Linked DNA regions of Homo sapiens: regions 1 and 3 are each linked to region 2. Evidence: promoter capture Hi-C in human tissues and cell types (Jung and others, 2019). All regions are on one chromosome and are shown on one strand. The core of a region is centred on a gene start or on the middle of the fragment in contact, and the rest is flanking DNA. Distances in the headings are between cores, read along the strand shown.

What was found. The method cuts DNA at HindIII sites, captures the fragments that hold promoters and counts their contacts. A contact is called where the count stands out against the background at its distance.
Region 1: the fragment with the promoter of FOXA2 here is called in contact with the fragment with the promoter of THBD in region 2 in 3 of the 25 tissues and cell types used here (heart right ventricle, neural progenitor cells and thymus).
Region 3: a fragment that was not itself captured here is called in contact with the fragment with the promoter of THBD in region 2 in 2 of the 25 tissues and cell types used here (neural progenitor cells and thymus).

Annotation. Positions count from the first base shown.
Region 1 is chr20:22,582,965-22,585,826 of GRCh38, forward strand. It overlaps FOXA2 (forkhead box A2), which reads right to left and starts at 1,608. Exons shown (of 2, transcript NM_021784.5): 1 at 1,228-1,608; 2 at 1-190. The coding sequence starts at 1,314. RefSeq lists enhancers at 1-213, 1,638-2,393. The HindIII fragment of the contact is 10,630 bases long and covers 1-2,862 here.
Region 2 is chr20:23,048,374-23,051,552 of GRCh38, forward strand. THBD (thrombomodulin) reads right to left here and starts at 1,299. Exons shown (of 1, transcript NM_000361.3): 1 at 1-1,299. The coding sequence starts at 1,131. The HindIII fragment of the contact is 7,811 bases long and covers 1-3,179 here.
Region 3 is chr20:22,654,056-22,656,893 of GRCh38, forward strand. No RefSeq gene overlaps it. Among named protein-coding and RNA genes, the nearest start is that of LINC01747, 30 kb to the right of the region's middle. The HindIII fragment of the contact is 5,260 bases long and covers 1-2,838 here.

The DNA.
Region 1 (2,862 bases), core at 358-2,857, 470 kb before region 2:
TGGCGCCCGCGCCGGGGGACATCCCCGCCAGGGACGGGCTCATGCCAGCGCCCACGTACGACGACATGTTCATGGAGCCCGCGCTCATGTTGCCCGAGCCGCTGCCCATGGCGGCCGCCGACATGCTCATGTACGTGTTCATGCCGTTCATCCCCAGGCCGGCGTTCATGTTGCTCACGGAGGAGTAGCCCTGCGGACAGAGCCCCGGGAGGGAGGCGACAGCGTTAGCACCGCGGCTGGAGGGTGCCCAGACCTCCCACCCACCGCCCAGGCCTCCGCGTCCGGGGAGGCCTCCGGGGAGCCCTTTCGTCCCCGATGGCCCAGTCTCCGGACTCCGAGTCTGTTTCATTCAGGGAGAGTCATGATCGATCGCCCTTGGGAAGGTGGCGAGCGGATTGCTGCTTGGGCATGTGGCCCGTTCCTAGCCCTTCTCCACCTCGCCCAGATTCTAGAACAGGGGTCCCATGGAGTACTCCCAAGCCAGCACCCCAAATACATTCCCCTACCCCAGAGTCTCCCCAAACTCTCCCACCAGCATACTGAGCTGGCGCCGAGGCCCGAAGTCCCCGGACGCCACCTCCGGTCGCAGCAAGCAACCTGCGGGACAACGCGCGGGGCGCCTCGGGCTGCCTCCAGCGAAGACTGTCCCGGGCCCCCTCTGTCCGGTCTCCCTCCAGGGACCCCCTCCCTTGTCCCAGGGAAACTGCAAGGCAGTGCCTGTGCGGAGTGCGGGGGCGGCTGGAGGCACTGAACGGGGCAATAGGGAAAGAACCGAGACCTGAACCACACGCGGCTGAGCTTTGCAGGCAAAAACTTTCTTTCTCTTTGTCCACTAGTCTTTGACTCTGCCTCCACTTCAGCCCCCAACTCCTACCCATCTTCTCCTCCTCAGCTCCCCACCCCCTCGCCGGCCGACCTCCCACCCCTCCCCAGCCGCGCGCTGCCAAACATAACTCTGTTAGGATAGTGCGTGGCTCGGCCACGAAGAGGATTTGGAGGCGCCGCAAGTCAATATTTGATCACAAAGTTAATATTATCTCAAGGCTAACAGTGTGTCGTATAAAAAAGAGACCCATTTGATTCCAAGGAGGGCGGAAAAGGCGGCTGCCCAGAAAGGCTGGGGTTGTGGGGCGGGGTGGGGGGGTGCCAGCGAGGGAAGCGGTCCTGAGGTTGGGGAAGGAGCGAGCGCCGCCGCTCCACTTCCCCCTGGAAAAGACGAGCGCTTACCTCGGGCTCTGCATAGTAGCTGCTCCAGTCGGACGGCTCGTGCCCTTCCATCTTCACCGCTCCCAGCATACTGGAAGCCGAGTGCATGGCAGTTTAAAATTTAACAGCCACAACAAACGACCAGCAATCACCCCCCACCCCCACCCTCTTTTAAAAAAAAGTCAGCCAAAGCACCGTCCCCTCCTCCCTCCCTCTCTCGCGCTCCCTCTCCCTGGGCTCCACTCCCTCTCTCTCCCTGGGCAGGCCGGAGGCGGTAGTTGGAAGTGGGCGGGAGGTGGGGGGGGGCGAGGAGCGGAGGAGGCCCAGGCCAGCGCCCCGCGGTAGGGAGCACCCGCCGCCGCCGCGCTCACGGGCTGCCGGGTGGCGGCTGAGGTTGGCAGTGCCGAGCTGCCCCGAGGCGGCGGGAAGCGCGCGGCGCGGGGGCTAGTGGGGGGGTGGGGAGGAGGAGGAGGAAGGAGGAGGAGGAGGCGGTGGTGGTGGTGGAGGAGGAGGAGGAGGAGGAGGAGGAGGAGGAGGAGGAGGAGGTGTGGACCGCGGAGCGGACAAGTGCCGCAGTGACGTGGGAGGCTGGTGATATAGCGCGGCGCGCTGGCGCGGGCCTCCAATCCCCAGACCCGGGGCAGCCCATTTGAATAATCAGCTCACACCTAGGTGAGAGGTAGCCGCAGCCGGCGCTCCGCACCTGCCCCTCAGCGCCTGCCGTCCGCCCCACCGCCGCGGCGCCCCGCACTCCTGGGCGGGCCAGGGGAGCGGGCTGGGCGGGCGATCGGGCACGCGGGATCCCTGGTCGAGCCCCCTTTCCTCCCGGGTCCACAGCGAGTCCCCTGAGGAAGGAGGGACCTGGGAGGAAACCACCCTCTGGGGCGGCTCCGGCCTCCAGCCCCCGCCCCGTCTCATCGCGCCGGGCGCCCGGTGCGCCTGTCGGAGGGCGCGTCCAGCCTCAGTGCCCGGCAGATCCCTATGAAAGCCGGATTTATTTATGCCGGGTTTCTTCGCTCTCAGTGCTCATTCTCTGTCAAAACAGCAAGTCCATGACAGCCAATTTGCAAAGCGCTGTCCTATTTAGAAAAACTACGTACACACCTTTAACTCGCCCGCTGCTGCTCCTGCGAGGCCCCTCCCTGTTACAGTTCAGACCCGGAACGGCCTCGGGAGAAGCGCGGGGCGCACGGTCTGGCCGCCTCGGCTCTCCGACTCCTCAGACACCGGCCGCCAGGGACCCGCAGTGGGGCGGCCGGCGCCTGGCGCAAGCAGCCCCTCTAGCAGCGGCCGACGGTTGGGAGGCTGAGATTTGTCTCTGATATTCAGGCCGGCGTGTTTCAAGGTTACTTTTCAGTCACAACCGAGGTGCCCACAGCATTTCGTAACTAAAACAAACAGGGCAGGAGGTGGGGAGGGAGGGGTGAGGAGAGAAGAATCCAGGAATCAATGATGGGGCATATGGAGTTGACTTCAAGAGCGTCTCTGTCCTCTCTGTCTTCCAGAGGGACTGCTTAATAGAAATTAGAAACTCCAGCAATCGTATACTTTTATTTCCCCAGCAGCTCTTGGGTTCAAAAATTGTCTTCTGTTCTGGGTTAGCCTGTGAGCCCAGATTTGGAGTGGGGGGATATTGCAGGTGTTTGGATGTGGAGG
Region 2 (3,179 bases), core at 49-2,548:
CTGGTACTCGCAGTTGGCTCTGAAGCACGGGTCCACGGGCTCCACACACTCGCCGTCCACCAGGTCGTAGTTAGGGTAGCAGTGGCACTCGAAGCCACCCTGTGTGTTGACACAGCGCTGCGGACACGGACTGGGCTCCAGTATGCAGTCATCCACGTCCTCGCACCGGTGTTGGTCGGCCGCCAGCCGGTAGCCGGTCTCGCACATGCACGAGTAGGAGCCCGGCTGGTCGGGGTTGGGAACGCAGAAGTGCTCGCAGAGGTCGTTGCAGGACTGCGTCGCGGATGCGGTGCAGGAGCGCCCGTCTGCCTGCAGGGCGGCGCCGGCTGGGCACTGGCAGCGGGGAGCCCCAGGGATCGCATTGCACGCGTGCTCGCAGCCGCCGTTCTCCACGCTGCAGTCCCAAGCGCCCGGCGCCTCCCTGGCCCAGTGCCCCTGGACCGCTCCGGGCGGCGCGGTGCACATTAGCTGTAAGCCGAGGGGAGCCACCGCGGCGGAGCTGCCCACCGGCAGCGCCTGGAAGTCCGCTCCGCGGGCCGCGAACGGGGTGCCGTAGGTGATCGAGACGGCGGCAGCCGCGGCGCCGGGCTCCACAGCCAGTGGCCTGCAGGTGGCTGGGAAGTGGAACTCGCAGAGGAAGCCATCGGCCTTCACTTCGCACTGCTGCTCCTCCCAGATCGGCTCGCTGGGCACAGTGGCCTCAGCAGCGGAGACAGCGACGCACAACGGGCCGCAGAGGGGAGCCCCATTGAGGTCGAGCCGTGCCCACCTGCTATAGCTGGTGTTGTTGTCTCCCGTAACCCACTGGAAGCCGCGCAGGGGCCCGAGGCGCTTGGGGTCGCCGCAGCCGGGTGGCAGCTGCAGGCCGATCCAGAGGCGCCGGCGGCCAACGCCGCCGTCGCCGTTCAGTAGCAAGGAAATGACATCGGCAGCCACCGAGGAGCGCACTGTCATTAGGTGGCCCCGCAGTCCGTCGCAGATCTGACTGGCATTGAGGAAGGTCGCGGGGCCCGGGTAGAGCGCGAAGCAGTCGTGCTCGACGCACTGGCTGCCACCCGGCTGCGGCTCTGCGGGTGCGGGGAACCCCAGGCCGGCCAGGGCCAGCGCGCCAAGGACCAGGACCCCAAGCATGTTACCCAGGCGCGCCGCGTGCAGGCGCCGGGGAAAGCGCGGGCACTGCGACAGGGCCGTGCCGGAGCAGAGGGGCACAGGACGCCGATGGCGACAGCCTCTCCTGTCCGTCCCAGCCCAGACACTTCTTGCCGCTGCGCGCAGCCCCTGCGAGGCAGCCTCTGACATGCGGATCGGCCAGGGCTCGAGTTTATAAGTGCCCGGCCCTCCCTCCCTGGACGTTCGGGAAAAGGAAGGAAGTGCCTGGTGGGAAGGGCTGATGCCGCATACTCGGATTGCTGGGTTCTCTGGCCGCCCTTGCGCCCGCCCTCGCGCATGGGATCACCTCGCCGGGATGAGTAAACCCTGCCCTGGCGCAGGGAGGTTCTCGGGCGGGGCCGACAGGGGCAGGCGCCAGGGAAGGCCAGCACCCCTGTAACAAGACGACTGTCCCCGCCCACCACTCGGGCCCCCACGCGTGCAGCCCTCTTTCATCTCTTGGTCCTCCTTTCTTTCTTTTCATACATGTTACAGCCACTTCCAAGGAAAGCCTGGATTGCAAGAGCTCTGGGAACCGGAGACTTCAGAGAAGAGGGCTTTGAATGGGGAGTGGGGGAGGTGGTGCACAGGACCTGCAAGACGCTGGGAGGGGTGATCGGCACCAAGGGCACTTTGGGAGGACCTGCCTAGGACGTGGACTTCCCCGAAGACAGGATCGCAAGGAGAGACAGCTGGATCCTGTCCGCGGCCAAGGTGCCTGGCTCAGGAAACCAGCGGAGCGCGCTTGGCCTCACAGGACAGTGGGTGTGGCTGGGGTGACGGGGCAGGGTGGGGAAGACTGGCCTAACACCAGCGCCCTCTGCCCCATGGCTGGCCAGGGACCCGCGAGTCCCTGGACACGCACTGGCCAACGCCAGACCCCATCTCATCGGGTGGGGAAGTCGCGGGGACACTGTCAGGGCGCCGAAGTCCGGACCCGGCTCAGAGGCGGTGGCAGGTGAATTGCTGCGGCGCCGGGTAGGGGCGGGCGCGTGGGAGCGAGTCAGCCTGGCCAGTTTCGGCCCAGCTTCCGAAGGATGGTGCTTCTTGCACCCCAACAGAGTGGCTGGCAACCCCCCAGGGGAGCGCGCAGGATCCCAGCTGATCCCACCCGGGTCGGCTAAGGAGGTTTCCATTTCGTCCAGAGTCCGAATTGATACCCACGTGCATAGAAACGCCACTTGCTCGGCAAAGGGCACTGAAGAGCCACCGTCCTGTGGATGGGCAGGGTGGGGGGGGGGCTGGAGGAGGACATGGGAATCCGTCACTTTCGACCTCTTCCGGTGGTTCACTTACCGGGAATGCGGAAGAGTGGGTCTCCCCCTCGGGTCGCCCCCATAATGGTGAGAGGCAAACTGTTTAAAAACACCCTTGCCTCTCTCCTCTACTGTCCTCACAACGAGCGCCAGGGGGCGGCGCTGTCGAGCTCTAAACAAAGCCAAGGAAGTTGGAGAAGTTTCGGGCTAAAAAGGGTTAAGGTGTAGGAGCACAGAGTCCTCCTTCTGGGGTTGGAAGCTCCGTTCCCGGGCAGCTCAGCGTGGATTCCGCTGCGTTCACCTCTTGCCTCCAGGGCCCAGTAGATCCTGGGCTTTAAACAAGAACAGAGAGTATGGCGTCTGCCACGTGCGACAGACACGCACCGGTGGGGTGGGCCGGGCTGGACTGGACTGACCTGCAGTGACCAAACGGGTGGGGCGTGGACACTCTGAAAGTGAAAAAGGCAAGCACGACTGTCCCGCCGCACACTCCCCAGCGCCTTGGGGCAGAGAGCCTCCAAACGTCCCGCTGAGTTGAGCTCTTCGCTGGGAAGGCCGCCCCAGCACCCAGGAAACGAAGGAGCTGCTGGACACGGGGGTCTGAAGCTCCCGGAATGCACACAGCTGCGCCTCCCCTGACGCGGACCCCCTGGGAAGAGGAAGGGAAGAGCGGCAGATAGCACAGTAGGGCTTGTCCGGCGGGAGCAGTCAAGCTGTGGCTGCCTAGGCTGAATCAGGGGGTCGTGACTCCGGTGCACAGCCTGCCTACGCGGG
Region 3 (2,838 bases), core at 317-2,816, 390 kb before region 2:
TACATGCGTCTATGATGGATGAGACACACAGGCACAGAAGCAGCGGCAGACTCACATTCTCCTTGCTGCTGGGGAGCCTGAGAGACAGCCTGGTGGGGATATGCATGTGTACATGCTCATACAGATCAGCCTTGCACACAGATATGCACACATGCACACAGACGGACACACAGCCACACATACCTTTACACGCACAGATGCATACAAACCTACACACACGCACATGCTCACACACAAATACACATGCACACAGGCACACATCCACACACCTATACACGCGTAGATACACAAATCCACACACATGCACATGCTCATGCACAGATATACACACAGATAGACACACATCCACACACACCCATACACACATAAATACACAAATCCACACACACGCACATGCTCACACACAGATATACACACATGCACACAGATAGACACACACTCACAAACATACACACAGAGGTATATACACATCTGCGCACATGCACATGATCACATACAAATATACACACAAATTAACACAAACATATATACATGTGCAAACACAGAGATATACACAGTCACACATGCACACACGTGCACACATCTAGACACATGCAGATATGTGTACACATTCACACATATAGACACACACACAAATTCACACACGTCCACATTCACTCAGAGATATACACATACATTTACACATATATACATTTCCAAACACAGATATATATACATTCATACATGCACACACATGCACATATATGCACACCGATATGCACACACATATACATACATATACAACATGTGCACTCACACAGATATTCACACAAACTCACACACATTCATAGACATACATTCACACACACTTGCATACAAATCTAAAAACAGACAAGTATAAACGTGTTCAATACACGGAGATGCTCAAGCATATACACACTCTCACTCATGCACACTCACATGCACACACACTCATCAGCACTGCACATGCATGCTCACCTCAGAGACCAACACGCACTCCCACATAAACTATCACACATGCACATACAGTCTCACACTACCTCATACACATCCCCACACCCACATAGACGTTTGTAAGCACATTTCTTTACATACAGGCCCTCACACACGTTCTCACTGATGGACTCACACACTCCCTTACACACTCATACACATACAGCTTGCACTGAAACACACGAATGCCGTGTCTCTGGTTCTTCTGAACATTTTTAGAAAGTGTTGTTGTCCCCAGCTCTGGGAACACCCTCCCTTTGGAGGCCCGCGTGGGCCCAGTTGCCCTAGTGTGCCCATCCACGCGCGAAGGAGTTTAGGTCGAAAGGTTTCTGCTACTTTCTCCCTCCTGTGTCCTCCAAAAGGAAGACGGTGACTACTATGGTGGTTTTGAGGCCACCTGGGGAGCTGCAGATAGATTCTCCTTGGTGGGTTGAATCTTCATGGCCAGGTTCATTGACTCTGAGAAGTTAATGAGCAATTTGCATTTTCCTGTTTGATTACCTGTATTTTGTCAGCTGAAGTTTATTTTATGCAAATGGGTCACCTCTCTGCACCCTTCCATTCTTCCCAGGTGTTTTCATGTGCTGCCTACGATGAGGTAGATGAAAGAATTTTTTGAGTGGGTCACTGGATTTTCTTCTACCTCGAGTTGCCTTGAAAAACGCAACTCTAGTAAATGTCAGTTTGACTGCAGGAGGCTGTGGCTCAGCTGTGTTTCGATATTGTTTTGGATATAGATGGCGAGTCAGGGCACTTTCCCTGTATTATCCAAATACTTGTGTATTTTTACACGTTTAAATTATTTAAGCATTTAAATTATAATTTTATTAACACATAAAGGAGTAAATTTCTCTTTAAACCAACTAAATAGTTTTAATATTATCATAATTCCTTTCAGTTTCTTATACCTATAACCATAAGTAAGCTAAATGGAGTTTTATAATTTATATTAAAGTTCTTATCTGAATCCCTGGGTTCTAACCCTTATTCTTCAGAATGATCAGATATCCTTCCATGTAAATAAATGTTGATGTTTTTGGATCAGCTGGTAAAACAGAAAAACAGGAAGAGACAGGCCTGCACAAGAAGCATCATCTTTTTTGTTGTATGTTAAAATACATAATAAAATTTACTATCGTAACAATTTTAAATGTACAGTTCAGTGACATCAAGTACGTTCACATTGTTATGCAACCAGCACCACCATTCATTTCTAGAACTTTTTCATCTCGCAAAACCAAAACTCTGTAACCATTAGACAACAACTCCTCACTTCCCCTCCCACTATGTCTAGCACCCACCCTTCTACTCTCTGTCTCTATGAATTTGACTACTCTAGGTATACCTCAAGTAAGTTGGATCATACAGTATTTGTTCTTTTGTGACTGGCTTACATCACTTAGTCTAATGTTCTCAATGTTCATCCGTATTGTAACATGTGAGAACTTCCCTCCTTTTTGAGGCTGTATAATATTCCATTGTGTGGAGATAACTACATTTGCATATCCATTCATCCATTGATTGATAAACACTTGAGTTGCTTTCATCTTTTGGGTATTGTGAGTAATCCTTCTGTGAACATTGGTGTTAACAGACTGTTTTTTGTTTTTTTTTTTAAAGACCTGACACTGTAGATTTCTTTTTCTAAAAAATTATTATTTTCTTTAGAGACTGATGAAGGTTGGAGCTGACACATGGGTTTTCAAGAAGCTCTCCCCTCCCCATGATTCTAATGGGCAGCCAATATTGTCATCCACTAGGTGAGAGGAAACCCAGATCTCCTTTGGGAGCAATGTCCCCTACACCTGTGAAGAGAGGTGGGGAAGGGTCCTTGCCATAGTTCAT